Linked DNA regions of Homo sapiens: all the other regions are linked to region 2. Evidence: promoter capture Hi-C in 16 types of primary human blood cells and fetal thymus (Javierre and others, 2016). All regions are on one chromosome and are shown on one strand. The core of a region is centred on a gene start or on the middle of the fragment in contact, and the rest is flanking DNA. Distances in the headings are between cores, read along the strand shown.

Region 1 (6,147 bases), core at 3,029-5,528, 210 kb before region 2:
CATATTATGTTTGCTAATAGAGATATCACCTGTTGGTGTCTTGTTGAAAGGTGAAGCTGGCTGGGCTTCTGGGTCTGGTGGGGACTTGGAGAACTTTTCTGTCTAGCTAAAGGATTGTAAACCCACCAGTCAAAACTCTGTGTCTAGCTAAAGGTTTGTAAATGCACCAATCAGCACTCTGTAAAAACGCACCAATTAGCACTCTGTGTCTAGCTAAAGGTTTGTAAGTGCACCAATCAGCACTCTGTAAAATGGACCAATCAGCACTTTGTAAAATGGACCAATCAGCAGGACGTGGGTGGGACCAAATAAGGAAATAAAAGCTGGCCACCTTAGCCAGCAGCAGCAACCCGGTTGCGTCTCTTTCCTTGCTGTGGAAGCTTTGTTCTTTCGCTTGCAGTAAATCTTGCTGCTGCTCACTCTTTGGGTCCACGCTACTTTTATGAGCTGTAACACTCACTGCGAAGGTCTGCAGCTTCACTCTTGAAGTCAGCAAGACCACGAACCCACAAGAAGGAAGAAACTCCGGACACATCTGAACATCTGAAGGAACAAACTCCAGACGCACCATCTTTAAGAGCTGTAACGCTCACTGTGAGGGTCTGCGGCTTTATTCTTGAAGCCAGCGAGACCAAGAACTCACTGGAAGGAACCAGTTCTGGTCACATTGTCCCATAGACAAGATAGATAAAGTTAGTGCAGTAGTGAGTTTGAGGGCTGGAGATTCCACACCTCTGTTTAAAACTTGTATCCCTGAATCCTTGTGTAGCCTTGATCAGATAATTCACGTTTGCTCTAAGTCTCTTGCTTATATAATGTGCTGAATTGTCCAAATCTTCAGAAAATTTTTATGGTAGCTACAATAAATGAAAACACTCACTCACCTTAGGGGTATGGACAACAGCAGATTCTGCTCCAGCGCCAGGTTGGAGAGCTGAGAACACCTCTGCAGGGCTCCAGCTTCGAAGAAACTCGCATTGTTGTTGTCCAGAATCAAATGTTTCAAGTCTTGGAGGTCCTGGAAGTCTTGTGCTGTTACTCTCTGAATCAGATTATTGCTACAATCAAGTTTTTGTAGCTTTACTGGTAGTCTGAAGGGCAATATTTGGAGCTGGTTTTGGGACAGCTCAAGAGCAGTTAAATTGGTAAGGAACTGTGCCCCATTGATGGAAGAGAGTAAGTTTTCTGACAGGTAAAGATGGGAAAGATTCTCCAAGTGTCTTGTGTCTCAAAACCTTACTATTCTGAGGTGGTTTCTTTCCATCTTTAAAGATAGCAAGGATTTGGGTAGATTGATAGGAACTTTAGTCAGAAAGTTACCACTGAAACTGAGAAATTGCAAAGACTATAGAAGAGTGAAGAAGCTATTGTATAAGATGTAGCTTATTATTCTCCAGGCTCATATGTGTCAGATGGGGAAGTATCAGGGGTCCAGCTATGGCCTCCACGTTGTTACCATCCAACATCAAACTTTGCAAACTGACAAGGGAGGAGAAAGTGCTGGGAGAGAGGGAAGAGATCAGGTTGTTTTTAAGTTTGAGGAATTTTAATTTCTTAAGTCCTTCAAAATCTGATCCATGTAGGACATTTATTGAGTTATCATTTAGTTTTAACACTTCAAGACTGGCTGGGAGAGCACTAGGGACTCAACTTATTTTTCCAGAGTTCTAAGGTCTTCAAAGTACTCAGAGTTTTGAGGGTGTCATTTTCTACTGACTCTGTTCCACTGGCCAGCAGAATAGAATCTTCTAAAGCCTACATTCAGGTGAAGTCAGACAGCTACAAAAAATGTGGAGGCAGGGAAGGGGAAGAAAAAGCAATAAATGAATATTGTTTAAGAAATACCAGGTACACTGTCATTACAATACTAATAATACTTCAGATTTTCCTTCAGATTCTATTTTAAATTATATCTTGGAAAACGGTTGAAACTCAGATCCTGAATATTTTTATTTATGATTGATAACATCAGTGTAAGGTATGAAAAATATTCTAAGCACTTTCACACATCATTGATAGAGACATATTATTGGCCAACTTTTACTGCATATTCTCTGACCCAGCAAATTTACTTATAGGCAGAGATACTTAACAAATTGCAAAATGATTCATGCACTAGGATGTTCTTTGTTGTATCATCTCATATTAGCCATAAATTGAAACAATCTGGAAATCTTTCACCAAATTGTTAGTAGTTTCTAAATCTAGAGGGTAAGATTACAAAGGATTTTCACTAGCTACATTTTGCATTGTTTAACATTATGAATCACACGTTTTAAAAAGGCATTAAAAATTACAAAAATGTAAGTGTCCCAGTCTGTTATCACTAGGATGCACTTAACTGAAAACACTTTCAACTATATTGTATTTTGGAAAATGAGCCTACCTGTTTTCTATACCCAATTTTCACTTCACCAATGAAAAAACTTCATAAAGAGACAAATGTATACATGTTATCTCCCTCCGTCTCTGCAGAGCAAAGAGTTCATTCATGCATATATTCCAGACCTAATGCCACCCTTCCTCTAGAATTTAGATATTTCCCAAAACTGATATACTTTCTTCGTGTTTTGTAAATTCTCCTGTCTCTCTACATGCCTGTCAACCTCTGAGCTTAATACCCATGTCTTTTTCTGAATGATGTAATGATCTTTATTTGGTGCTACGAGTAAGGTTATGTTTAAGCAGAAAAAGGAATTGTTCCATGTTTTCTTCGGGTTGATAAATCTTCAAAAAATTTTCAATCTGCCTTAGAATTCAATGAAGCTGCAATTTTCAGTATACAATTTCACGTGTCTTACTATCCACAGTTTTTAAATATTTGACTTAATTATGCAGTTGAGCACTTTTATAATACCAGTACATACCAGTACATGATTAACACCTTCAAAGTGAGTTTATTTTGTATCATATATTTATTATAGGTACTTATATTCTTGGAGGATATGTGATGTGAATTATCGTGTATTTTTAAACATCTCTAATATGTTACTCCATTAGGAGACTCTCCAGTTAAAATTTCCATAAATGAATATTTTTAATCATAATGGTTTCGGCAGTTGCCTTGGGTTACATATTGCTGCTAACATTTTATATTTTCTTAATGATTTATCAGTTATATTGAATAGTCCTAGTCCCAATAATGATAGAGATTTTATTCTTGCATTAATTGAGTATCTAAGAGTGCCACGTGCTTTTTTATATATCACCAATCCCCTAATAACCCAGCAACTTTACTATTATCAACACTGGCTTCTAGATGAGGAGACTAGGAGAACTAGAATGTGAAAGAATTCAGAATTTCAGCAAGGTCTATTGAACTGCAAACCCCTTTCTTCCTTAGCTACACCATTTTCTAAAGCATTTTCTATTGCATTTGGCCTGTAATTAATGTTTTTCAAAAGAGGCTCAAGATCTAGACACAAATCACAGAGCTTTAAAAAAGCAGAGATTTTAGGGATTAACTAATCTAAATCTCCCATTTCAGGAATAAAGAATTTCAGGCCCAAGAAGTTAAATAACCTGCTGAAGACTCAGTGTTCTTTACACTTCATTCTGAAATGCCTTTTTGTAGGCTTATCTTTTATATAAAGTCAGAAATGTCTCTAGACATATATCTTTATGTCTTGGACTGTTGAGATCCGCCAAAAAGAACTGGGTATTATATTTCAACTTATATCTGAGTGACAATAAACAAAAAATGATTACTAACTATGCAGTAAGTCTCAGAGATGACATGGATCAGAATGGGCAATTTATTTTGGGAATGGACAAGGGATGGTGTCAAAGCTTCAATTTGTCTTGATTTCTATTTATGAAGTATACAGACTGAGCTAAATAGACTTCATATTCTTAAATCACTATTATTAAGCATAGAAAGCATTTTCTTCTTTTTTTTTTTGGTCAGGGTCAATAGAGATTACATTTAATTATTAATTAAAATGGCTACAATTTTAGAAATATTTACTATATTTAATTTTTACAAAGCCCTATGTATAAGCATAATTATTCCATTTTCAGAGAGGGAAACTAAGGCTCAAGAAAGTGGAATAACCTGTCCAAGTATATCCTTTTCTAGTGGAAAAGTTGGGCTACTAACCCAGGTTTATCTTACCCCAGTGCATATATTTTTAGCCTTACAGCTATAACATCCTTTAGCTGAAGAAAATAGAATTATGGTGCCACATAACAATGAGGAAGACTCCTGCTGACTTTCAACTTTTCAGTTGGGTTTGCAGAGCTGACAAAGGGAAAAAAATTATGCCAGACCCATTTTTCCATTTCCATGGCTTAAGCAGGGCTTCACACAAGATATGTGGAAAGAGATGCTTTTGCCCTAGAGCTAACCTTGGGGCTACTGGCAGCTTTTCCAATATTGCTTAAAAAGCAAGGCCAGTAAAATGAAGTAGAGCACAGGATAGCTCCTGCTAGCTTCTCCAGGAAAGGCTTTGTTTCTGGTTTCAATCCTAGGCAGACCCTGCTCCAAGTAGTAAAGGGAACACACCCTTTTCTGGCTCCTGATAGATCCAATGTACAACGAAACTGACATACACACAAAGCGATGGTTTCAGACCTGTGTGAAACAAGCCAGGAATGAGTTTGTAAAACAATGTTGGATTTTTTTCCTGATCATCAAACAACATTTTTTCTCTACAAACAATTTTTAAATTCTGGAAAATGTAGAGAGAATATAAAATAACCCATTATCCCCCCATTCAGTTTATGTATTGTTTATGTATTTCTTAGGAAGAATTTGAAGAAGCTTCTTGTCTTCCACAAAAGATGTAAAGTACTATCATTTTAACTGACTGCTACCATAACTACATTCCCATTTGTCTTCTACCTCTGAAGAGAATATATCACTTTGGCTTATCCATTTGAATGGCAATAGTGAAGTAAACTTAATGATTTTTTACACATGTGGACACAAAGTACGAACCAAAACTACAATCCTCTAAATAGAAATGACTTGGGTCACCTAGCATATTGTCCATTTGGTATCACATGTAATCAGCTATTCGTTGTGTCTTTCACTCAACACAGTTAAGCAGTTCATCATGGCTTGAGACTGAAGTCCAAGTTAGTGAATAGCAACAGAACAGGACAGAGGGGAACAAAAGAATAAAGCTGAATTCCTTTCTTATGCCATACCCAAAAATTAACTCAAAATGGATCATAGACCTAAATGTACAAACTAAAACTGTAAAAATCTTAGAATAAAATATAGGCATTACATTTTCATGAACTTGGATTAGGTAAAGCTGGCTTAGATATGACACCAAATGCATGAGTGACAAAAGAAAAATAGATAAATTAAGTCAGGTGTAATAGCTCAAGCCTGTAATCCCAGCACTCTGGAGGCCAAGGCAGGTAAAGAGCAGCTAGTAAAGAAAGAGCAGCTGAATATATGGGGGTGCAGAAAGTTAGAGAGCAAGGTCTGGAGAGAAGTGTGAAGGATAGAATCAAGGGCCTTGAATACAAGGAGAGACATGTCCTCTCCGGAGAAAAGAGTTTGCAAAAGTGGATGGAGACAAATTTGTACACAGTGAGCAGGGACTGAGGGAGATCAAGTTTTGTCATGATTTGTCAATAAAATGGGAGGCCAGCTATTCATTGAGAATGAGGATGGCAGGAATTGAGTATGCAACCCAACACTCTACCGAAGTTTTGGAAGATATTGAATGATTCTGTAAATTCAAACCCAATAAATAGAATGTACATTGTATTTACCAAATGCAAGTGAGATATGGTCACTTAAAACCTATGCAAGTGAGACATGGTCACTTAAGACCTAAGTATTTTTAAAAGAGAAGTATCATTGGTCAGAACTTTCATCAACAAAAAGAGCTTTCCTTTTCCTTAACAAAACAATCCTGTCTTTTATTACGTTTCTGTTGTGAACAGTCCTTCCAAGAAATAATTACCTAGCTTAAAGTCAGGGAAGTGGCAATGCTGCTATTCAGTGAAACTAAACCAATGACAAATTGACTCATCCAATAACTGAATTTAATAAGGGGCATAATTTTATCTTATTGGCTACAAAGTACCATTGTATAATCATTACTAGGATTAGTTCACCTTCTGCTCAATAAGCATGTCAAGTCCTCAGAGCAAATATTTAAGTAGCTTACCCTTTAACCAGGTGTC
Region 2 (5,861 bases), core at 2,176-4,675:
GATCATTCATCATGACCAAGTGGGATTTATCCCTGGGATGGAAGGATGATTCAACATATACAAATCAATCAGTGTGCTACATCATATCAAAAGAATGAAGGATCAAAAGCATATGATCATTTTAATTGATGCTGAAAAAGCATTTGGTAAAATTCAACATCCTTTTATGATAAAAACCCTAAAAAAAAAAACTGGGGATAGAAGGAACATACCTGAACATAATAAAAGCCATATATAACCTACCCACAGCTAGTATTATACTGAATGGGGAAAAACTGAAAGCCTTTCCTCTAAGGTCTGGAACATGACAAAGATGCCCACTTCACCACTGTTATTCAACACAGTACTGGACATCCCAGCTAGAGCAATCAGACAAGAGAAAGATATTAAGGGCATCCAAATTGTAAAGGAGGAAGTCAAATCATCCTTGTTTGCAGATGACATATCTCACATGCTGAGAAACCTGGAGACTCCACAGGAAAACTAGCAGAACTGATAAACAAATTTAGTAATTCAGTAGTAGCATTTCTGTATGTCAAGAGTGAACAATCTGAAAAAGAAATCAAGAAAGTAATTCCATTTACAATAGCTACAAATAAAATTAAGTATCTAGGAATTAACCAAAGAAGTGAAAGATCTCTGTAATGAAAACTATAAAACACTGATTAAAGACATTGATTAGGACACACAAAAAATGGAAAAACATTCCATGTTCATTAATTGGAAAAGTCAATATTGTTAAAATGTCCATACTCCCCAAAGCAATCTACAGATTCAATGCAATCCCTATAAAAATACCAATGACATTCTTCACAGAAATAGAAAAAAACAATCCTAAGATTTATATTGAACCACAAGAGACCAAGAATAGCCAAAGCTATCCTAAGCAAAAGAACAAAACTGGAGGAATTACATTACCTGACTTCAAATTATACTACAGAGCTATAGTAACCAAAACAGCATGCTACTGGCATAAAAATAGACACACAGATCAGTGAAACAGACTAGGGAATCCAGAAAGAAATCCACACACCTACAGTAAACTCATTTTTGACAAAGATGCCAAGAACATACACTGGGGAAAAGACAGTCTCTTCAATAAATGGTGTGGGGAAAACTGGATATACATATATAAAGGAATAAAACTAGACCCCTATCTCTCTCCATATACAAAATTCAAATCAAAATGGACTAAAGACTTAAATCTAAGACCTCAAACCATGAAACTACTACAAAAAACATTGGGGAAATCTCCAGGACATTGGTTGGGGTAAAAATTTCTTGAGCAATACCCAACAAGCACAGGCAACCAAAGCAAAAATGGACAAACGAGATCACATCAAGTTAAAAATCTTCTTTACAGCAAAGGATACAATTAACAAAGTTAAGAGAAAACCCACAGAATGGGAGAAAATATTTGCAAACTACCCATCAGACAAGGGATTAATAACCAGAATAAATAAAAAGCTCAAACAACTCTATAGAAAAAAAATCAAATAATCCAATCAAAGGATGGGCAAAAGATTTGAATAGACATTTCTCAAAAGACATACGAATGACAAACAGGCATATGAAAAGGTGTTTAACATCATTAATCATCAGAAAAATGCAAATCAAAACTACAATGGGATATCATCTTACCCAGTTAAAATGGCTTATGTCCAAAAGACAGGCTATAACAAATGCTGGTGGCAATGTGGAGAAAAGGAAACCCTTGTATATTTTTGATGAGAATGTAAATCAATACAACCACTATGGAGAACAGTTTGGAAGTTCCTCAAAAAACTAAAAATTGAGCTACCATATGATCTAGAATTCTACTGCTGGGTATATGCCTAAAAGAAAGAAAATCAGTATATCAAAGAAATATCTGCATGTGAATGTTTATTGCAGCACTGTTTACAATAGCTAAGATTTGGAAGCAACCTAAGTATGCATCAACAGATGAATGGGTAAAGAAAATGTGGTACATATACACAATGGAGAACTATTCAGCCATATTCAGTCACGTCCAACAACATGGATGGAACTGGAGATTATTACGTTAAGTGAATTGAGCTAGGCACAGAAAGGCAAGCATTGCATGTTTTCACTTATTTATGGGATCTAGAAATCAAAACAATTGAATTCATGGACAAAGAGAGTATAAGGATGGTTGCCAGAGGCTGGGAAGGGTGGTGGTGGGTGGGGTGGGGGATGGGAGATGGGGACAGTTAATGGGTACAAAAAATGTAGAAAGAATAAATAAGACCTACTATTTGATAGCACAACAGGGTGACTACAGTCAATAATAACTGTACATATTAAAATGACTTAGAACATACTTGGATTGTTTGCAACTCAGTGGATAAATGCTTGAGGGGATGGACACCCCATTCTTCATGATGTGCTCATTTCACATGGCATGTCTGTTTCAAAACATCTCCTGTACCCCATAAATACATACACCTACTATGTACCCACAAAAATTAAAAAACAAACAAACAAAAATCCAATCAAAAGACGTTCAGCTCAAAACAAAACCTCATGCATGTGTTACTCATAGGGAGAACCTTATATCATTAAGAAAAGGTTAAGTTACATTTAGTATAATTTATTTAAGAAAACAAGGAGGTTGGCCTGTTGTACCGCGGTGGCTCACGCCTGTAATCCTAGCACTTTTGGAGGCCGAGGTGGGCGGATCACGAGGTCAAGAGATCGAGACCACTCTGGGCAACATGGTGAAACCCCATCTCTACTAAAAATACAAAAATTAGCTGGGCATGGTGGCGGGCGTCTGTAGTCTCAGCTACTCGGGAGGCTGAGGCAGGAGAATCGCTTGAACCTGGGAGGCGGAGGTTGCAGTGAGCTGGGATCATGCCACTGCACTGTAGCCTGGGCGACAGACAGAAATTCAGTCTCAAAGAAAGAGAGAGAGAGAGAGAGAGGAAGGAAGGCAGGCAGGAAGGAAGCTTGTACAATGTTTCCTTCTCAAAGCAGACACTTGAACATATCTTAGGTTTCTGGTAACTAGTTTCAGCTGTCTCGATAGACCTGATAAGTCAGTATTTTAGTTAATATGTAGTAAAGTTCTGAGAGTACTCTAACCAACTTCCTTGTTTTTAACTCTCTCCCAGGGTATTTGTCTATTAATTTCAGCTTTGTTTGCTCTTAAATTTAAAAATATGTATTTGGCTTCTGAGTTCTGTTTTCTCTCTCAGTTGCATTGCTTGATTTGGGTGCCTCTATTTTTCCAATAATTCTTTATTATAATAGTGCTACTGTTTGCTAAAGCATACGTGGTCAAAACCCAATTCCCTGCAGAGCTGAAAAGAGCTCAGAGAAGTAAGGTGGTGGACGACCCACTGAAATGTTCCAGTTTCAGACTGCATGTGTCACACCCTTGCTGAAATACAATTCGTTTTCTTTAATTTCCATGTGAAGTGCACTTCTAAGAACTAACCTTTAGTCACTGGGTGACTTTATGGGAGTAAAAGGAAGCTGTTATGAAATAGCTCTTATGGAACTGTTACAAGCTTTCAAGCATTCAAAGGTCTAAATGAAAAAGGCTAAGTATTATTTCAAAAGGCAAGTATATCCTAATATAGCAAAACAAACAAAGCAAAATCCATCAGCTACTCCTCCAATTGAAGTGATGAAGCCCAAATAATTCATATAGCAAAATGGAGAAAATTAGACCGGCCATCTAAAAATCTGCCATTGGTGAAGTGATGAAGAACATTTACTGTCTTATTCCGAAGCTTGTCAATTTTGCAACTCTTGGCTGCCTATGGATTTCTGTGGTGCAGTGTACAGTTTTAAATAGCTGCCTAAAGTCGTGTGTAACTAATCTGGTAAGTCTCACAATCTAATATTTGTCTTTGCAGGAACTAGAACATGTAGCATTCAGCTTGTTATAACTGATAGAATTGTTTTCTCTTTATGAGGAGTTTTCTTATGAGAAGTGGTGGCAACAAGGCAAGATAGATTATTTTTTCTTAAATAAGTTAGGAGCCCTTATAATTGCAGAAGATAAAGCAGGCTATTTTATTTCTTTAGGGTATGTGGTCATATATTTTTTGGGCTAGAGGACTGGGTAAAGGAGGTTTAAATGGAATCAATTTTGCCAATTTTGCACACTTAAAAACTTTCTATTTAAACTTATTTATTACAAAGTCATTAGTAGTTGTCTTGAAACCTGAAATCGGTTTGGCCACAGGATAATGCCTGCTAATTCCAGCTGTGTAGGGAGCTGGATGAAAAAGGAAGCAGATACAGTTGCCATGTAAAATAATATTTTAAAGCAATAATTATTTGTACATTTCTTTATTTCTGTTTGTGCATTTATTATTTTAGTTAGTGAGTTTTTTATATGGAAATTCATGCTTTCATTCTCATTTCTGGGTGTCATCCCTTCTCTAACTATTGTACCATCTCTTTTCAGTTGTAATTTAGTTGTGCTTAAAACAGTCACTGAATTAACTTTAAAAACCAAGTACTCTATAGACAGAGAAAATGCACTCTTCCTGTCTAAAGACAAATAAAATATCATGATAGTTTGCATATGACCCTATCTATAGCCATACTTTTAAACATAATGCAAGTACTAAATATAGTATTCATTATATTATTCTAAAGTATTGGAGATAGAATTATGTGGCAGATTAAAAAGAAACTTGCACTTATACACTTTTGATTTAAACTGTAGTTTAAAACACTACTTAGGTTTACCATGGTTAGTAGCATTTTTTTAAAAGTTTAGTATTTTATATAAATCTTTGCCGAAGACTTCATTGCCTTTAATATAGAATTGCATGCTTTAGTTTTTTATATTTGTAACCCAAACTTAAAAATGGAAGAATGGAACTACTAAATGTTTCAACTACTGAATGGAAAACTAAATGTTCTAAAAAAGATTTTAACTTTTTTCTAATTATAATAAGAGTATACATTTTAAATAAAATATTTATAACATAGAGAACTACAGAAGAATAAAAAACTTCTAATTCTAGCCCTAGTAATCTTTTGATTGAATTTTCTTTTAGTATTTTTCCTCATATATATATATGTATACATATATATCTATAATTTACACCCAGCTATGCAACCAGCTTTTTCATTACATTGTATTGTGAGTTTTCCCCTAGACCCTGAGATTTTTTTAGAAACAGAATCTTTATTATCTTTAGAGTATTCCATTATATGAATGTACCACCATAATTTATTTGTTAATTTCCCTGCTACTGAAACTGATTTTAGTTGTTTCCAATATTGCAGTCTCCATTTTATTTTACTGTCGTTTTATTTATTCTTATCTTTTTGTGTGGGCTCCTTGCTTCCAGGGTTTGGCAGTAGGAATAGACAGTTTGTTCCTTTGTTGAGTTGCCTTCCGTTCACCACCTACAGAGAATGGCACAGCTGATGTGTGGCAACAGCAAGAGAGACACGGTCTGCCAATTTGACCAGTGAAAGTACTACATGTTCCCACATAGGGCCTGGAGGGACAAAAGTGAAGTGAATGTACAATTGAATGTAACCATGGTTCACAGGAGAGGATATACAAAGTGCTCAAGTTTATTATATTTTCTGCATCATTTTTAAAAACATGGACATTTACTCTGAAGGTCATCTATAATTTTATTGGGTGATTCTTGATATTGAGAAATGTTTTCTTAAAAAAAAAAAGTCACCACAAGAATGTCTTGTCCAAAAATAAAATGTTAGAATTGTGGGCCAAATTGCACGAAGCAGAGTTCTATGCTTGAGCATTGGTATTTTACATTACTTTTATCTTACGTTAACAGAGATCTGCATGTACTAGTTGAAAGTATTAACTGAAAAGTTTTTTTGAATTCTAGAAGCCATGTGCTGCAGAAAACAAC
Region 3 (5,761 bases), core at 1,207-3,706, 130 kb before region 2:
TGTTTCCTTGACGTTAAATATTTTGGCTTGTTATTTATTTCTAGTAGTTCTATTATTTGTACCAACATGTCATAAAGTCTGTGCAAAGGACTTGGCTTAATTTTGTGTTATAAATATTGCCAGCTGTTGTTATCTATGAGGAAAACATTGATGAAAGTTAGAAAATCAATCCTGTTTTTAAGATACTATTTAAAAGGGTATTCTTCCATTTTGACATCTAAGTATATATGATTTAGAAGTTCCTAAGTTATATGTAAAATAATTTTTGGAAAATACTTGTAAATGAATTACTTGAGTTATGAACATTTAGAAATGTTATGAACATTAGAAATACATTTTTGTCACTGACTAACCTTGATTTAGTGCTAATACATATATGCTTTCCGTGTGTTGATTTAAGCTCCCAATTCACCAAGTGATTTGAAAAGAAGTCTTTTCCCCAGAATACAACCCCATAGGATATTGGTCAATTTATGAATTTTTTTTTGGTCAGTTTATGAAATTTTAAAGAGAACTTGTATTTTCATTGTTAATCAGTATTTTATTTTAGGTGGTTTTATAACTAACCTTAAAGAAACACTTTAAAAGTATTGCAAATTACCGTGCACTGTTGGTGCTGAATATTTGTTCAATAATGAACCTTTTTCAGGTGTGATTTGAGAGCTATAATCACCACGGCAGCAGCCATGAGAATGCATCTGTCAGTTCTCGTGCAGGAGGGAGCATAGCTTACTGAAGGTCCAGCTGCTGTGGTCTGAAATCCATCCCTGTGTACATGGTGAGGCTATGCTCCTCCATGCTGCTGCCAGTCAGTGACTGATTATGACAGGGATATTATATGATGACTCCTCAACTTTAGCTGGAGCACTCCACGATGGTCTTGCCAAACTCCCTTAGGATTACATTGTAGTCCAAGTTGCTTTCACCCAACCTTCCTTCCTCCTTTCATTCACCTTGGGTCTTAACTCCATTGTGATCTCATTGCCTTCCAGCCTCCAATCAACTCCAGCTTCCTACCTATTTTTCCTCACTGGCATTGCCGTTAATAAATCTGTTGCACAGCAGATCCCTTTTTGGTGTTGGCGTCTGCTTCTTAGAGAGGCTAGATTAACACAAGTGACCATGAGTGAGATTTGAGGAAACAGGTAATAAGATGGGCATTAGGAACCCACCCAAAGGGTAAAGACAGTGACATCTGGTTGGTGAGTATAGTTTATCTAGTCGTTGGCACAAAATCATGGCTCAGTGGCTATTTCACAAATGGTGTGCAGAAAAGAGTTAACAGAACAGGCCTGAACCTGTTGTCTTTAGGTCTGCTTGCAAGGTTGGACCTTGGCTAGCGTCCAGCAATTTGGATATCAGGAGTATTCCCATTATCCCCTTGCTGGTAAGTGCGGTTTACTGTGCCTGAAGTGTTTGTACAAACAGTAGGATTTTTGTTGAACACTTACTTTCCTCTGGGAATCTAGAATTTTGGTACATGCTAGGCAGAGGGTACCTACACTGACTTCCCTAAAACCTTGACTCCTAGGTTCAGTCAGGCAAGCTTCCTAGGTGGACAACACTTGATGTATTGTTACACATTATTGCTAGAGGAATTAAGCATGTCCTGTGTGACTCCATTGGGAAATGAATCTTGGAGCTTGTACCTGATTTTCTTGGGACTGTGCCCATATGCCTTTTCCCTTTCCTCATTTTGCTTTATATTCTCTGTAATAAATCATAATTGTGAATAAAGCTTTGCTTAGTCTGATGAGTCCTAGCAAACCACTCAACTTGGGGAGAGTTTTGGAGACTTGGGACTGAAATTGGAAAACATTTTATTTAAATTGGAAAAAATTATTAAATTGGAAAAAATCCAGCTTATGGAGAGGGGAACTCTCCAGGAGGGTCAGTGATGCAGACATTTGAAAAATGTGGGAGAACAACATCTACAAGAATAGCAGAGTTGGCCGGTTACAGCAGGATTGTATTAATGACCTACAGAAATGGATGGAGGGGGGCAGCTCCCAAGGAGGCCTTACCTCCTACAATGGAGGGATTGAAACAGCTGAGCTTCAGGCTGAACACCTAAGTGTTAAGAGTTGCTGAGTTTCAGACACTTGAATGTTCAGCGAAACCTCTTCTATTTTGTGAAAGTCAAGGCCCTGGTGAGGAAAACCTAGAACCATGGGGAGATCTGGATGGCTGCACCTGAGAGACTTTGCAATCTCTACTGGACTGTTGGTCTTAAGAAGAAGCCCACGCTTCTCTAATAAGACCTTGTACCTTGTCTATGCTCCAAGATGTTACAGAGGCTGCTACTAACCACATCCCTAAGGCAATACCTGCCCCTACCTAGTCTGCTGCCAGGCCTGTAACTAGGGCTAAATCCTAGTAAAGCCAGGATGGGAGATGTGCTGGGCCTGATAAAGGAGAAAAGAAACTACACAAAAAGTGTAAGAATTAGCTAGCACATTCTGGCAAAAACCAAAGGAGTACTCCTAGAACTGAATTTTATATTTTTTATTTTTATTTTTTTTGAGACGGAGTTTCACTCTTGTTGCCCAGGCTGGAGTGCAATGGTGCAATCTTGGCTCACTGCAACTTCCATCTCCTGGGTTTAAGTGATTCCTCTGCCTCAGCCTCACAAGTAGCTGGGATTACAGGTGCGTGCCACCACGCCTGGCTAATTTTTGTATTTTTAGTAGAGACGGGGTTTCACCATGTTGGCCAGGCTGGTCTTGAACTTTCTGACCTCAGGTGATCCATCCGCCTCCCAAAGTGCTGGGATTAGACTGGCCACCGTGCCCAGTCTGGAATTGACTTTTGAGAGTGCTTGATCAGGGTGTAAACTTATTAAAAGAAAGAACTGAAATTAGAAAACATTTTATTTAAATTGGAAAAAATCCAGCAATATGTTGTTTAAAAGGAACATACCTAAAACATAAGGACATAAAAAATTTGAAAGTGAAAGGAGAAAGAATATACACTGGGCATATTTTCTCCAAAAGAACATGGATACAGTTATATTTTTTAAAAACAGACTTTAAGAAAAAAACCATTAGGGATAAAGGTTACTTAAATTCTTAAAGAACCAATTTACTACAATGTTAAATCTATCATCATAGTGGGAGATTGCAACAAAACTTTCAGGCAAATTAGGAAAGAAGGAAGATTTGAACAACAAGCTTGATTTAAAGTTTTAAGAGGGCATTTGGTTGTAAAAGAAATACCTCTGGCGTCTAAGTAAGAAGATAAAAAGTGAGCAAAAAACAGAGATTTTTCAAAAGAAAACATACAAGTGGATGATAAACATGAAAAAAAAAGTTCAACATCACTAATCAGAGAAATGCAAATTAAAACCACAATGAGATATCATCTTACACCAATCAGAATGGCCATTATTAAAAAGTCAAGAAACAGATGTTGGGGAGGCTACAGAGTAAAGGGAGCACTTACACCGTTGGTGGGAATGTAAATTAGTACAACCTTTACGGAAAACAGTATAGAGATTTCTCAAAGAACTAAAAATAGAACTACCATTTGATCCAGCAACCCCACTACTGGGCATATACCCAAAGAAAGAAAGAAATTATATTGAAAAGATACTGGCACTCGTATGTTTATCACAGCACTATTCACAATAGCAAAGATATGTATGGAATCAACCTAAGTGTCCATCAATGGATGACTGGATAAAGAAAATGTGGTAAATATATACCATTGAATACTATTCAGCCATGAAAAAAGGAATGAAATCATGTCTTGCAGCAACATGGATGGAACTGAAGACCATTATCTTAAGTGAACTAACTCAGAAACAAAGTTTACTACCACATGTTCTCACTTATAAGTGGGAGCTAAATAAAGGGTACACATGGACATATATAGAGTGGAATAATAGACGTTGGAGACTACAGAAGATAGGAAGGTGGGAGGTGGGTGAGGGTTGAAAAATTACCTATTGGGTATAATGTTCAGTATTCAGGTGATGGTTACACTAAAAGCCCAAACTCCACCACTACGCAATATATGCATGTACAAAACCTGCACTTCTACCCCCTAAACCTATAAAGATAAAAATATATTTTAAAAAAGGAAGATAGGTAATGGACTATAACAAGGAAAATTAGATAAAATATAGGCCGACACTAAAACTTGGAGTCTATGCGTTGGAAAGGTAGAATTTGCAATTTGGTAAATTGCCAGCAGGGGGCAGCAGATTCCAGATGCATTATTAATTTTACTTTTATTAGCGGTGTAAGGCTTTTTGAAACTCATCAAATAAAATACTCCTGTGAAGATCAATAAATTGAAGGCTGATTTTTCCAGGGTCACACAGCTAGTTAAGTGTCTGAGCCAAGACTCAAATCCCTCTCTTAATTCTACTTTAATAGGCCACAAAGAAGGAAAGGGGAAATATAGATAAAATTGTCAGCTTTCAGTCCTCCTATTCCAACAATTATTTTTATTTTTTCCATGCTTGCCAACTGCAGTAGAATTTTTCTAAAGTTTTCTTAAAAGGTGCACGGTTTGATGGACCCTTGGCTTGATACAGTTTTGATTTCTAAAAATGATGATTGTGCTGGGTTTGAATTTCACAAGAAACTGTTTGGCTGTAGTGGAGTGACTATAGAATGAGAGAACTCCTAGAGTTACATAGTAGAATTCTAGATCGTCAAGACTATAGCATTCCCCTGCCCCCACCAAATACGGAATAAGTTATTTCTTGCTTGTGTGCATACTGTCCCCATATTCTTTAGGAAGCAATACTGCAACAAGGATATTTGTGTCCTTTTGTGACATTTGAGGATGTGTCATGCTCACTAGGTGCCCTCTACTGTCATGTTCACCATGGTTGAGGGCATTTTTAACCTCTGCCTAAGGCAGTAACAAATGGGTTGTTGGCTTCTGAAACAGGAGAACTACAAAAAAAAACCCTGATTTTTCAGAGGAAAAAGGCAAACTGCTGACTAAACTAGTCATGAAAAAAGGGAGTAAATGCAAATATACAAAACAAGAAATAAGAGAGAAATACCCATAAAAGAGAAAACTAAAAGGATAATAATGGACTACTTTGTTCAATTCTATAGGAATAAATTTGAAAACTTTTCTAGGAAAATGTAATTTACCAAAACTGTTCCCAAGGAAGTTTTAAAATCTAAACAAACCAATTTCCATAGGAAAAATTGAAGGAATTGTCAAAGTGCTCTCCCCACAAATTACCAAAATACATGATTTCACAGGGCAATGCTACTAAACGTTCAAACAACAGCTAATTCTAATGCCTAGCAAGAGAACCAAAAAAGGGAAGAAAAATTCTAAATTGTTTCTGTCAAGCTAATAATATCTGATCAAGATTGCCACAAAGAAAGAAAAGCCCTGATTCACAAAAGATTTTTTTTTTTTTTTTGCAACTGAGTCTCGCTCTGTTGCCAGGCTGGAGTGCAGTGACTCGATCTCGGCTCACTGCAACCTCCGCCTCCCAGGTTCAAGCGATTCTCCTGCCTCAGCCTGCCGAGTAGCTGGGACTACAGGCACAAGCCACCACTCCCGGCCAATTTTTATATTTTTAGTAGAGACAGGGTTTCACCATGTTGGCCAGGACAGTCTCGATCTCTTGACCTCATGATCCGCCCGCCTCAGCCTCCCAAAGTGCTGGGATTACAGGCATGAGCCACTGCACCTGGCCCACAAATGAATATTAATGTAAAAATCCTAAGTAAAATCCTATCCATGCAAATTTAATACAGTAATGGATTCATATCTATAACCAGAT
Region 4 (6,209 bases), core at 2,726-5,225, 180 kb before region 2:
CCTCAGGAGGTCCTGATGACATGTGCCTAAGGTGGTTAGAGCACAGTTTGGTTTTATACATTTTAGGAAGATATGAGCCATCAATCGACATATGTAAGATGAACATTGGTTTGGTCTGGAAAGGTGGGACAACTTGAAGCAGGGAGGGGGCTTCCAGGTCATAGGTAGATAAGAGACAAATGGTTGCATTCTTTTGAGTTTCTGATTATCCTCTCCGAAGGAGGCAATCAGATAGGCATTTATCTTAGTGAGCAGAGGGGTGACTTTGAATAGAATGGGAGGCAGGTTTGCCCTAAGTAGTTCTCAGCTTGGCTTTTACCTTTAGTTTAGTGATTTTGGGGGCCCAGGATATTTTCCTTTCACGGAAGCTAAAAGTTTCTTTGATCAAATAATCAATTTATTTTATTTCCAGAGTAAGGATTTCTGTGTGCTTTTCTCCAAAGACTTGTATTCTTTTTAATAATTGTTTTTCCTCTGTTTTCTTTAACTATCACAGATAAGGAATGGTAAAGAGATTTTGGTAACTATTCTGACTTTCAGAACACTTTGTTGTTTCTTTTGTTGAGTAATAGAATTTCTTTTTGATTTTTAGAATTTCTAGCAATCAAAGTAATGCTCAATGAAAGAAAATTTGGAAAAAAAAAAAAAAAAAAAAAAAAAAAAACAGCAAGGAGGGAAGAATTGTCACCTTGAGTCACATCCCAAAGTCAAACATCACATTTCCAGTTTCTTCTTTTCTATGCTTAGGCTTTGAAAAGACAAAGAGTAATACTTATTGCACATGTTTCTGCATTACTATAAAGGTAAATACATATCCAGTTACTTGAAATAAAATGCCTGCAAAATCCTGTCCTCTCATCTGCCATTGATAACAGCAAATTTTTCTGTTATGCAGCACAGTGATGAGTTCCATTCTTCATCCTTTGTTGGTGACCATAGGATTCCTTTTTCTTTGAGCCTTGAAATTACACTATATAATTTTTTTCTTCTTTTTCATGGCATTTCTATACCTTTACTGCAATTCTAGCATTATTTATAATATTTTACACTGTGAAGTTTTATTTTCTCATGTTTGTAAACATACTCATAACTTTACATTTTATTCTTTTCACTATTATATTTTTGCATATTATTTCAGTTTCTATAAATAAAAACTTAAATGTCTAAATAATAGTCCATCAAAAGTACTGTCTATAATTTAACTACTTTCTAACTAGTGGAGTTTTAAGTTGTTTTTTGATTTTAGCATTATAAATGTAAATAACTTTGATCATAAAAAGCTTCAGAATGTTTTGAAGAATAAAAGATCTGTCTTTTCCCAGAACATACCTATTTATTTAGGTTAAGCTGAAAAGTCAATTTTTTTTTTTTTGATAGCAGGCAAAGTCTTGTTGATACTTACAGACTGCAGAGAAAATATAAAACAAAGGTACAGCCTTTATGCTTGAAGGACATACATGTTTTGTTGTTCCTCTTCTAGAGATGGCAAGCCTGTCTCATCTTTATTATGCTAGGAGGAATACAGGAGCTGCCACCATTGCTCAGCTTCTAGTTCACTTTCTGCCGACTTTTGGAGTTTTCACACATTGACTAAGGACCACAAGTATAAAGCTCTCGTGTTTTTATCTCTGGAGCTTAAGGCTAAGTGTGAAGCATGCAGTACTTTTTTCCAAAGATTTTAACAACACCTTACATGATTGTTATTACTTGACTCCTTTGGGTAAGAGGGAACCAAGTGAAGGAACAAGGGTGCCTCTCAAGTATGGCAACTCAACGACACACCCAGCAACTGTGTTCAAAATAGAGCTCAGAATCTAGCTTTAGTCTTTCAACACAAGAAAGATAGCAATCTCAAGAAATATGCTTTGTATTTGAATTTGGATTGGAGTAGATTGTTTGTTCAGATTCTCTAGGCTGGATACTCCCTCTCATTTTATTTTTTTTAGTTTTCTTTTTTTGAGATGGAGTCTCACTCTATTTGCCCAGACTGGAGTGCAGTGACACAATCTTGGCTCACTGCAACCTCTGCCTCCCTGGTTCAAGCCATTCTCATGCTTCAGCCTCCCAAGTAGCTGGGATATCCCTCTCTTGCTTTCTTTATCCTTATTTTCCCTCTCTCTCTGGAAACTTTTCTATTTTGTTTTATTTGAGATAGACTCTGTGTTACCCAGGCTGCAATGCAGTGATGTAATCTTGTCTCACTGCAACCTCCACCTCCCCAACTTCACTCCTTCAGAGCAACTGAGACTACAGGGGTGCCACCATGTTCTCCACTGGAAACATTATTTTTGATTATCATCAAAATACGGGGGAGAGGGGCAGTGTTATCGGCCTCTAGTGGGTAATGGCCAGGGATGCTGCTTCACTGTGGGGGCTACAATGCACAGGATAGCCCCCACAATGAAGAATTATGGAGTCCAAACTGTCCATAGTGCCGTCATTAAAAATGCTGCTGTACATAACAAATGTGTACCTCTATGAGATGGATACTGGCCTTCCCTGATTTATTAAAAGCAAAGGGCAAGAAATAATTGGCCTAAACTCTGAAGTTACCTAATATCTTGCATGTAGTATTTTGAGAGTAATGACCATAGAAGGCATATCATACCAGGATAAATAAATATGCGGAAACTTCTGTTGTAGTTAGGAGGAGAATTTGGCAGCGCCAGGTACTCACGCCTGTAATCCCAGCACTTGGGGAGGCCGAGGCAGGCAGATTACCTGCCATCAGGATTTTGAGACCAGTCTGGCCAACATGGCGAAGCCCTGTCTCTGCTAAAAATACAATTAGCCGAGCCTGGTGGCGCACACCTGTAATCCCAGCTACTCAGGAGGCTGAGGCAAGGAGAATCGCTTGAACCCGGGAGGCAGAAGTTGCAGTGAGTCGAGATTGTGCCACTACACTCCAGCCTGGGTGACACAGTGAGACTCAGTCTCAAAAAAAAAAAAAAAAAAAAAGGAGTATTTAACTTTGTTTTTGATGTGTGGATCATTTTTATTACTTTCATAGGATGTCAGCACTGGAAGGAACTTTAGAGATAATCTAATCAACACCACATTTTTCCATTGTACACAGGAAACTGAATTCCAAAAAGGAAACGAACTAACTCAAATTTTCCCTGATCTGGAATTACAAGCATCAGCTCATTATTCCTGCAATAAAACCGATTGGCCAGGAGCTAAACAGAAGACTTCTAAAAAATGAAAACCCCTGGCCGGGCGCGGTGGCTCACGCCTGTAATCCCAGCACTTTGGGACGCCGAGGCAGGCGGATCACGAGGTCAGGAGATCGAGACCATCCCGGCTAACACTGTGAAACCCCGTCTCTACTAAAAATGCGAAAAATTAGCCGGGCGTGTTGGCGGGCGCCTGTAGTCCCAGCTACTCGGGAGGCTGAGGCAGGAGAATGGCGTGAACCCGGGAGGCGGAGCTTGCAGTGAGCCGAGATGGCGCCACTGCACTCCAGCCTGGAGGACAGTGAGACTCCGTCTCAAAAAAAAAAAAAAAAAAAAAAAAAAAAAAATTGAAAACCCCTGTCTCTGATAAAAGACATTTTAAAGATTAAACAAATTATGTATATGATTCTTTTTAAATATATTTTCTCCTTCTGAAGCACGTTGCATAAAGAGCATACGTTGAAAGTAACACAGAAAATTAAATTCTTCTACTACTTAACTTCTCTAAGCCTCATGTTTGTTCTTCTACAAGATAAAATGGGGGAAATAATTTCCACTTTAGAGAAAGGAATAGATGAAGCAAACTAAAGTTTATCAAGTTGATGGGCAAAAAGTAGGATCTCAACAAATGATAGTTGGCGTATCAGTTTAAGTTATGGATTGCAAGCAACAGAAACAAATTCTGGCCAATTAAAGCAGAAAAAGAATTACTGAAAGAAAATTGGGTAGCACAATGAAGTATAAGAATGCCTGGAGAATGTGAATTGGAAATGGCCAAGAATAAAGGAAGGCTGCATAGTCAGAATCACAAGCAAAATTGCAAAATTGCACCTCAGTTGAGTGAGGACACCATTCCTGCTGCCACTACAGAACACGAGTGCACCAGCCTCTACCACAAACCTGAATCTAGCACAACACCAACACTAGCATGGCTGCTGCTGAAACTGCTATCTTCACTCCCTCTCCAATCCCTACCAAAAGGAATGCTCCCAATCCTGCCTCACTATCTCCATGTTAAAAATTTCAGGTGGATAATTCTAGTTAGCTGAGTCTAGGTCACAGCCCTGTGCTCTACCTGTCACAGAGTCAGGAAAGTGATCATCTGACATTTTCAGCTTATTATGGAAGAAGAATTCTCTCTCTCACCAAGTAACATAAAATGGGAAATTCCCTAGAGGAAGGGAGCTCAAATATGGAGAGTATCCCACATGTAGTGACAAATTTTCACTATAGAAGTCTTTTCATCCTAACTCCCTCTGCTCACCATGGCCACAAAAGCCAAACAAATTCTGAGTGAGTTACAATCATCTGGGGACAAAACAAATACTATCTCCAGCAATTGTTGTGATAGAGCTTTTTGTGTAATAGTTTCACTACACTTTTCTGACTTTTAGTTTCTTTTTCTTTTTCCTTTTTTTTTTCTTTTTTTTGAGACGGAGTTTCGCTCTCATTGCCCAGGCTGGAGTGCAATGGTGCAATCTCGGCTCCCTGCAACCTCTGCCTCCCAGGTTCAAGTGATTCTCATGCCTCAGCCTCCTGAGTAGCTGGGATTACAGGTGAGTGCCACCACGCCTGGCTCACTTTTGTATTTTTAGTAGAGACGGGGTTTCACCACGTTGCCTAGGGTGGTCTCGAACTCCTGACCTCAGGTGATCTGCCTGCCTCGACCTCCCAAAGTGCTGGGATTACAGGCATGAGCCATGGCACCCAGCTGAAATTTCTAATTAGATAACTTATACTTTTCAGTCAAAACTCGAAAAAATAATTATTGTTGAAGGGTATTTGGAATACAACTGTTTCGGAGGCCCTTAGTAGACTAATTTATAAAAAAAAAAACAGAAGGTGATGAAGGAAAGTCTATGTTTGATCCATACAGTCTGACACTTGAGAAATAAACAGTGACTTCACAGTGGACAAAAGAAGAAGAAAACATGAGTAGGAAACTCTGATACTACTGTTGATAAATGGTGGTTTCAGACAAGGCTGAAGCAAACCTGGAGCTGTGGGAAGTGGTAGATGAAGAATGTACATCGGGGAAAAGGGGAAAAGCAGTTATAGTCTGTCTTTGATAGTGTAAAATTTATTATGTTTTGGTTTTAGGTTGAATATACTATACAAAACATAGTATCTAGTAAATTTTAACAATGGAATAAGCAAAAGAATCCTTGAAGCCTAAATTATAATGGATTTATTAGTCAAATAAGCCAGATCATTGTAAAATAAAACTTTAGGTTTGGAAAAGAAAGACTAATATGTAATTTATAGATATCCTAATCTCTGAGGCAATATAAAAATATATTAATATTTAGCTATGCTCTCTAGCATGTATCACAAGTATGTCTTGAAAAGTGAAGTGACTGTTAGTTTCCTAGGTAGAATGATCGAATACCTTAATTATTGAAGTTATCACACAAATAGTTATAGCATTCCTACCACATTCTAGGTCCTGTGTTAGGACCTGGGATACAAAGATAAGTAAGATACAGTTATTGTTGCCAAGGAACTCACAGTCTAACAAGCTCCAAAATAATATGATAAATGCGGTAAAAGATATTTACAGGAAACTAATTGGGGATGGAGCCCATAGCATCATATGAGGAGAAAGAAGGAAGGCTTCCTGGAAGAGGAGGTGTCTGAGCTAATTCTAAATCACTGTACCAAAATTCTCAAGTTTTAAAAACAAGAGAGCAAACAGTTGTCCTGTTTTTTGTTTGTTTTTGAGACATGATCTCATTATGTTGCCCAGGAGGGTCTCAAACTCCTAGATTCAAGAAATCCTCCCACCTCAGCCTCTCAAGTAGTTGTGACTACAGGTGCACACCGCCACACCCAGATCCCTTTGTTTATATAAGGGAAATAATCAGGAGAATAAGGCTAATAAATCCCTTTGGATTCCTAAACTTACTTCTTTAGCATATGTATCTGAAATTTTCAAAACTGTTGGTAATATGAATAATAAATTCAATAAATATAAATAATATGTATGAATACAACACTCCAAACCTTTCCTACATTGATTAAATAAAATGCTAG

Evidence for each region. The method cuts DNA at HindIII sites, captures the fragments that hold promoters and counts their contacts. A CHiCAGO score of 5 or more calls a contact.
Region 1: a contact is called between a fragment that was not itself captured here and the fragment with the promoter of ROS1 in region 2, in 1 of 17 cell types (endothelial precursors). The highest score is 6.5, in endothelial precursors.
Region 3: a contact is called between a fragment that was not itself captured here and the fragment with the promoter of ROS1 in region 2, in 3 of 17 cell types (activated CD4 T cells, naive CD4 T cells and total CD8 T cells). The highest score is 5.5, in activated CD4 T cells.
Region 4: a fragment that was not itself captured here is called in contact with the fragment with the promoter of ROS1 in region 2 in 1 of 17 cell types (endothelial precursors); the score reaches 5.4 in endothelial precursors.

What each region holds. Positions count from the first base shown.
Region 1 is chr6:117,629,344-117,635,490 of GRCh38, reverse strand. It overlaps the pseudogene NEPNP. Among named protein-coding and RNA genes, the nearest start is that of GOPC, 30 kb to the right of the region's middle. The HindIII fragment of the contact is 973 bases long and covers 3,792-4,764 here.
Region 2 is chr6:117,423,506-117,429,366 of GRCh38, reverse strand. It overlaps ROS1 (ROS proto-oncogene 1, receptor tyrosine kinase), which reads left to right and starts at 3,425. Exons shown (of 44, transcript NM_001378902.1): 1 at 3,425-3,833. The coding sequence starts at 3,711. The HindIII fragment of the contact is 564 bases long and covers 2,954-3,517 here.
Region 3 is chr6:117,554,526-117,560,286 of GRCh38, reverse strand. It overlaps GOPC (golgi associated PDZ and coiled-coil motif containing), which reads left to right. Exons shown (of 9, transcript NM_020399.4): 9 at 1-18. It also overlaps a transcript of DCBLD1 not described here. Among named protein-coding and RNA genes, the nearest start is that of GOPC, 45 kb to the left of the region's middle. RefSeq lists an enhancer at 1,960-2,009. The HindIII fragment of the contact is 1,432 bases long and covers 1,741-3,172 here.
Region 4 is chr6:117,606,014-117,612,222 of GRCh38, reverse strand. It overlaps the pseudogene NEPNP. Among named protein-coding and RNA genes, the nearest start is that of GOPC, 6.6 kb to the right of the region's middle. The HindIII fragment of the contact is 5,386 bases long and covers 1,283-6,209 here.